2 separate regions of the Homo sapiens genome follow, and region 2 is linked to region 1. The links are contacts of gene promoters, found by promoter capture Hi-C in human tissues and cell types (Jung and others, 2019). All regions are on one chromosome and are shown on one strand. Each heading gives the region's core, a stretch centred on a gene start or on the middle of the fragment in contact. The rest is flanking DNA. Distances are from core to core; before and after follow the strand shown. Region 1 holds the start of MGP (matrix Gla protein). Region 2 overlaps ART4 (ADP-ribosyltransferase 4 (inactive) (Dombrock blood group)).

Region 1 (3,247 bases), core at 460-2,959:
GTGAACTGGCTTTCGCACTTTAAATTATTCATTGATCATGTAATGATTCAGATGATTCATCTTCCAAGATGGACACTGAAACTAACACTCATAGTAGGTTGTGGTTTAAAGAGTGGAACAACCGCCAGTCTCATTAGTGGAAATTGTGATGGTTGAATTTATCAAGGATGAACATACACGGTCTTCTTTCTGAGATTTTCTTTAAGATTTTCGCACAGATAATCTATTTCTTAGGTTTTGGAGAGAAAACTTGAATTTTATTGATCCCTCAGAACTCAATCTTTCAGATTTCAAAGGAGCTATTTCTTTTAATGGGGACTCTGTTAATATTTATAAAAGCTCTTCACAGGATGGAGGGTGGGAGGGAAACTCCATCCCAACAAGACAAAAAGAATGAAGCATGAGGCTCCACCTAGTTCATCACTGCTCCTTGAAATACATCAGTATTGAAAGACACATCCACCCCACCCCCAACCCAGCCCTATTGCTGTTCCAGCTCAAGAGTCAGAGGTCCCGAAGCTGTAGCTCTTCTACAATCTGCTGCTCTGTGACTTCAAGTCTGTTGTCTGCAAAGAAAACTATTGGGTTCCCAAGCAAGAGAGGCACATCTGGTAGGACAGATTTTGTGATTGCAAAAGAAGGGGGAAAAAAAGAAAGAAAGAAAAGACCTCTCTATACAAGATAACCAGAGGCATCAAACTGAAATCCTCCTGTGGAAAATAAGCTAGTACTTCTGGGCCTGATGGTGTAGTGAAAACCTGTGCTTGAGGATACATTACAGTGAAAGAGCAAAGTGAATAGTAAGTAGCTATTACTTACCTCCTTAGGGAGGTGTGTTGTTTGTCTGTACATCCCCCACAGCACCTAGCACAGTACCTTGCATCTCACCTGCCACTCACTAAAAAGTCTATCAAGTTAGTTAATTATCGAGACAACGCCCTCAGAAATGAGAGAACAGTACCCTCTTATCCTTGCTGCACTTTCCAGCACTGATACGCTGCCTAAAAGAGGACTAGGGCACAGGTTTGAATTAATGTCACAAAACTGGATGGGCAAGTTACAACGGTGTTGATTAAGGAAACAGAACTCATGGTGCACCGGATATCTCCATCCTGATGAACCCTTGGAAAAATGCCAAAGATGCATATCCCCAGGCAAATGCCTGATTAGTCTGGGATTGATAGATTGGTCTAGGATTCAGCCCTACTGGGAAGATGTCTAAATTATAATCAGTGTAGAAAGCGAAGTTCTCCTAGAAGAAGAGGCAAAGGTTAAAAAGAAGAAAAGAAAAGAAAGTGAAGTCCTTTCTCCCCCAAAACCTCTCATCAATCAATCAGGGTAACAAACAGAACACTAGGGCTCTGTCTGTGGACCAAACCCAAAAGCCCTGCGGTCAGGGCCAGGAGGGTAGATCATGTGTTTGTGGCAACTTCCTCTGTGGGCTTTTGCCCAGGTCTGTCCCCAAGCATACGATGGCCAAAACTTCTGCACCAGAGCAGCATCCTGTGTAACACAGTCAGGTCCAGCAGTTAGGGAAAACTGCCCACTCAGAGTAGATAATATCTGGAAGGAATGACTGTTTGGGAAAAGTTCCAATGCTAGTTCAGTGCCAACCCTTCCCCACCTTCTCCAGCTCTCTCCCACTGGTTCCTCCCCTCTCAACTGCTCTGGTTCTTATAAAAACCTCACAGCCTTCCACTAACATCCCGTAGGAGCCTCTCTCCCTACTGCTGCTACACAAGACCCTGAGACTGACCTGCAGGACGAAACCATGAAGAGCCTGATCCTTCTTGCCATCCTGGCCGCCTTAGCGGTAGTAACTTTGTGTTATGGTGAGAAACTTTTCTCCCATTTCTCTGTGTTTACTTTTCTGCCTCTGACTTTGGCTTACTTCTATTTTTCCTCTCCCTCCTCCTCTTCTTCCCCCTTTCTCTGTTATAATCTTAAAGTACCATTACTTTCACATTTCCCAGTCTCCGCAGAAACTGATCTGTTCTATTAAGTCTTTTTTATATCCTAAATATCCAGAGTCTTATGCAACTTAACAGGCAAACCCGTTCAGTGGTAAGTCTCTGTATATCTAGAAACTCATATTTCAGAAAGAAGATACCAAATTCCCAGCCCCCTGCATCCTCATTTTTAAGGATATTTATTTAGACTTTGGTATCAATGGGTTAAGGGTATTGTTTAAACCACTTGCCTTTGAGAAAATCCATTTTTATGTGAAGTATTAAGTATAGCCCTTTCTAGGGACTGGACAATCTCATGAACTTACTATGTTTGTTCAGTTAATTAATTTTAAAATAAAGTTTTACATCAAAAGAATTTTAGAAAAGAATCATTTTCATAACTCCTGTTGTCAGAAAATAAATTTTGCCTGTTTTCTATATGTCATTAAATATACCTGCATTTGTTCAAAGCTTATAAAAGGAAATCTGAAGCAAAGTTATTTACTTATTTCAGTCTTTTGTTTCAATTACCTAGATATTTTCATTGTTTTAAAATTTAAATTACATTAACAACCATAAAGATTATGCTTCTCACTCTTGTATTCACAAATTTTCTGTATTAGAGGATTTGATTTCTTCACCTCCTTTTTAAGTTTTGAAGAAAATTCACTTGCTGGCAAATATTAATAGAAGCTTCTTATTCCAAAATTTATCTGCTGTGCTCAGGAGAGTGGCAGAAAGAAGAAAACTTCGGCTTTGATATCGTTTCAGTTCTCTCTCTGAACTGGCATCGTGCCCAGGGTGAGCTGTCAGCTGGAGCTAGTGGTTTCTGTGGCTGCCAATTTAACACAGGTTCTTAAGAGGCTTTCGGAACCCTCTTAGAAACCTGCCCTAGTAAGCCCAGCAGAGCAACTGCCCTGTAGTTCTCTTGCCTGGAGAAACCTGGCTGTCTTCTGGATCCTTCTTAATCCTCTTTGACCCTGTTCTCAAACAGGCTCTGAATAAATCAGAGAAGAAGGTTCTCTGGAGACTTCTGTACAGCACTTAAAGTGTCTTATTTTGCTTGTCTGAAGACGTCATAGCCCTTGGGAAATTTTAGCTGAAAATGGCCACTCCCTCCTTCAACATCAGAGAAACTAAAATATAGAGATATCCACAGCAAGGCCAGAGCTAGAGAAAAACCTCATAAATCCTAAATTCCTGAAATTTCTAATAACCACACTGCTAAATATATTCTTCATGTTTTTAGACTCTTTCCTCTTCTTCCATCCCTGTATTTAAACTATCACAGTGTCTAA
Region 2 (3,247 bases), core at 245-2,744, 48 kb after region 1:
AAAGGCCCTCACCAGATGCTGGAGCCATGCTCTTGGACTTCCCATCCTCCAGAATTGTGAGAAATAAATTTATTTTCTTTACAGATTACGCAGTCTGTGATACTCTGTTATTGCAACAGAAAACAGACTAAGACACAGCATATGTTAATCACAAGGATTTCAAACAGCCTGGTGTCTTCAGGGACTCTGAAATTCTGGATGGCTGGTGTGTAGGATGTGTAGGATATGGGAAAAGAATAGGAGTAGGAAGGGAGGAGGGGATTTATCCAGGTAGGAGAATTCTGATGGGGCTTCATTATAAAAGGTCTTGTATTTCATGCTAAGGACCTTTTAATTTTATGCTGTAGGTAATAAGAAGTAATTAGAAGTTTTTAAGGAGTAGAAATCAATTTGGTCAACATCTTAGAAAGGGCTCTGATGACACTGTGAAAAATGAACTGAAGCAGGAAAATTTAGAGATATCAAAATACAAAAAAAAGTTAAACTTTTTTTAAGAAAAACATGGCTGATTGAATTTTATGTTGCCACCTAGCCATTTCATGGAGGGGTAGTTGTGTAGCAAATCCTGTGCCCTTTTTGATTCAGAAAAAAAAAAAAAAAGACTGTTCATATGTAAATTTATTCACACTCACAGTCAGCTGGAACCCAGTTGCAGGGTCTACCTTCAATATATCCCCAAATTTGTCTTCGCTTTATCATTATTGCTATGATTTATAATTCAGGCTCTCAGCATTTCTCAACATTTCAGGGCAGTAGTGTTGCAAAAGTGTTCAAACTGGCATCCACACTGAGGTCTAGAATCTGCTCACTCTGTCCTAGCCATAAATACAGACCAGGGAGAGGAGACCTATCAATACTTTCATCTCCTCACATGTCACCTTGGAAACATGGCAGCAAAACGAGTGAAATGAGTATCTGCCCCACAGACACAGGAGATTAGTGTTTGTAGAGGATGAAAAACTATAGTAGAATATGAAGAAAACAGTGAGATTTTGATAATAAATGAAAACATTCATAGCCAGGTTCCAGGATTCTTTGGAACTACACCTGACTAGGATATGATTACTTCATTCTCATCATGAATTTGGAACATATAATTCTTCACTAGGATAGTAAGCACAGTAAAATATATTCAATGAAAAATTACAGAAGATTTATATTAAGCATTGAGTGGGAAACTGAGGGAAAGGAGTATATAATATAAACCATTACTCACATTCTGCCACTCTATAAACCTCAAAGAAAAATATTTCAGGACACCCCCACCCAAATTAATGATCTTTGCTTTCCTATGGCGAAACTACCCAAATGCAACTTTAACTTAGTTTTGAGTTAAGGTTTAGCTGGGGTAGCCACATAGATCACTAAATTCTGACAGTTCGGTTGGTCTTAATGAAATATTTGGAATCACCAATCACACTTAAGGGAATCAATAATCTTGTGTCGCTCTATAAGCTCCCTGGGGGCAGGAACTCGACTAGTATTTGAGGAACTAGTATTTGAGAACTAGGCAGGCAGGCAGTTTGAGCCCAGACCCACTCTGTTTGAATTTATATCCCACTGTACCACTTAATAGCTATGTGTTCTTGGTCAAGTTGCTTAAACTCTTTTTTCATCTACCTAATAATTATCGTAACAGAACCTCAGAAGACTTTTGTGAAAATGAAATAAAATGTAAAATTATTGGCCAAGTGCGGTGGCTCACACCCGTAATCCCAGCATTTTGGGAGGCCGAGGTGGGTGGATCAATTGAGGCCAGGAGTTTGAGACCAGCCTGGCCAACATGGTGAAACCTCGTCTCTACAAAAAGATACAAAAAGTAGCCAGGTATCATGGCACATACATGCAGTCCCAGCTACTGAGGAGGCTGAGGTAGGAGAATCGCTTGAATCCAGGAGGCGGAGGTTTCAGTAAGCTGAAATCATGCCACTGCACTCCAGCCTGGGCGATAGAGTGAGACTCCATCTTAAAAGAAAAATAAATAAATAAAATTATTTATATATTCTATAGCATATAATAATGGTAAATTAGTGTTAGCTATTACTAACTTCAGTCCTCTGGCACATAGAAGTGCCCAGCCTATTTTGTTGAATGAGTGAATGAATGATGGTGAATATACCTCTAAGCAATCTGAGCCTTAGACTACATGACCATCTAACACAATTAATTAAAAACAGTTCCAATATTTGAAGAAGGGAAGATATTCTAGAAGCTTCAACCCCTAGTCAAAAGTAAGCTGTTGTCACAATGTAAATGATCAACATGGTCACTTGCAATGTGAGTTACCGTAACTAAATTTTTCCCAGAAATTTATCAATTAGAAGCTTGTGTGGCCATGCAGAAAAGCTTGTAAACGGCAGAATAAAAATACCACTGGTCATGATGTGAATCATCCCGTTGTTTGGGGGATCCACAGTCTACACTGTGAGTCACTTAGTAGCCCTCTCAGTGATCAGATCTGCTGTCTCGGTATTGCAGTGTTTGTTTTCAAGTGACCCTCATTTTATTTCATAATGGCCCCAAAGTGCAAGAATAGTGATCTTGGTGATTCAGATATGCCCAAGAGAAAGTGCCTCCTTTGAATGAAAAGTTTAAAGTTCTCAACTTAATATTTTCTTTATAAATTGAAGTGAAGAGGGAAGAGATAGGTCAGAGGCATCATATAATCAGCCAAGAGCTGGAATTGGAGCATTTTCTCACCCTCCACAGCTACGAAACTATCTGGGAAGGTAAAAGAAGGAGAGGAATAAGCTCACATTGCAGGGATGCCTTTCTTCCTTTGATCCCAGACTCTGACTAAGGGTTGCAGAGAAGGCTGGTCCATCCTCTGGTTCTACCTGACCTACCTAAGCCTCATCTGCCATTGGCTAGTTAGCATCACAGTCATTTAGTTGAGGGCAAAAAATTGCAGTAATGCCCCCTTACCTATGGTTTTGCTTTCTCTGGTTTCAGTTACCCGCAGAATATATTAAATGGACAATTCCAGAGATAAAGAATTCCTAAGTTTTAAATGGTATGCCATTCTGAGTGGTGTGATGAAATCTTGTGCCTTCCCTCTTGGGATGTGAATCATCCACAGTCTACACTGTGAGTCACTTAGTAGCCCTCTCGGTTATCAGATCTGCTGTCTCGGTACTGCAGTGTTTGTTTTCAAGTGACCCTCATTTTATTTCATAATGGCCCCAAAGTGAAAGAATAGTGATCTTGGAGATTCAGATATGCCCAAGAGAAAGCGCCTCCTTTGAAT

The links. Contacts are between HindIII fragments. The study calls those that stand out against the background at their distance.
Region 2: a contact is called between a fragment that was not itself captured here and the fragment with the promoter of MGP in region 1, in 2 of the 25 tissues and cell types used here (bladder and hippocampus).

Annotation. Positions count from the first base shown.
Region 1 is chr12:14,884,316-14,887,562 of GRCh38, reverse strand. MGP (matrix Gla protein) reads left to right here and starts at 1,709. Exons shown (of 4, transcript NM_000900.5): 1 at 1,709-1,832. The coding sequence starts at 1,772. The HindIII fragment of the contact is 8,639 bases long and covers 1-3,247 here.
Region 2 is chr12:14,836,253-14,839,499 of GRCh38, reverse strand. The region is part of intron 2 of ART4 (ADP-ribosyltransferase 4 (inactive) (Dombrock blood group)); the gene reads left to right. Among named protein-coding and RNA genes, the nearest start is that of ART4, 5.6 kb to the left of the region's middle. The HindIII fragment of the contact is 5,545 bases long and covers 1-3,247 here.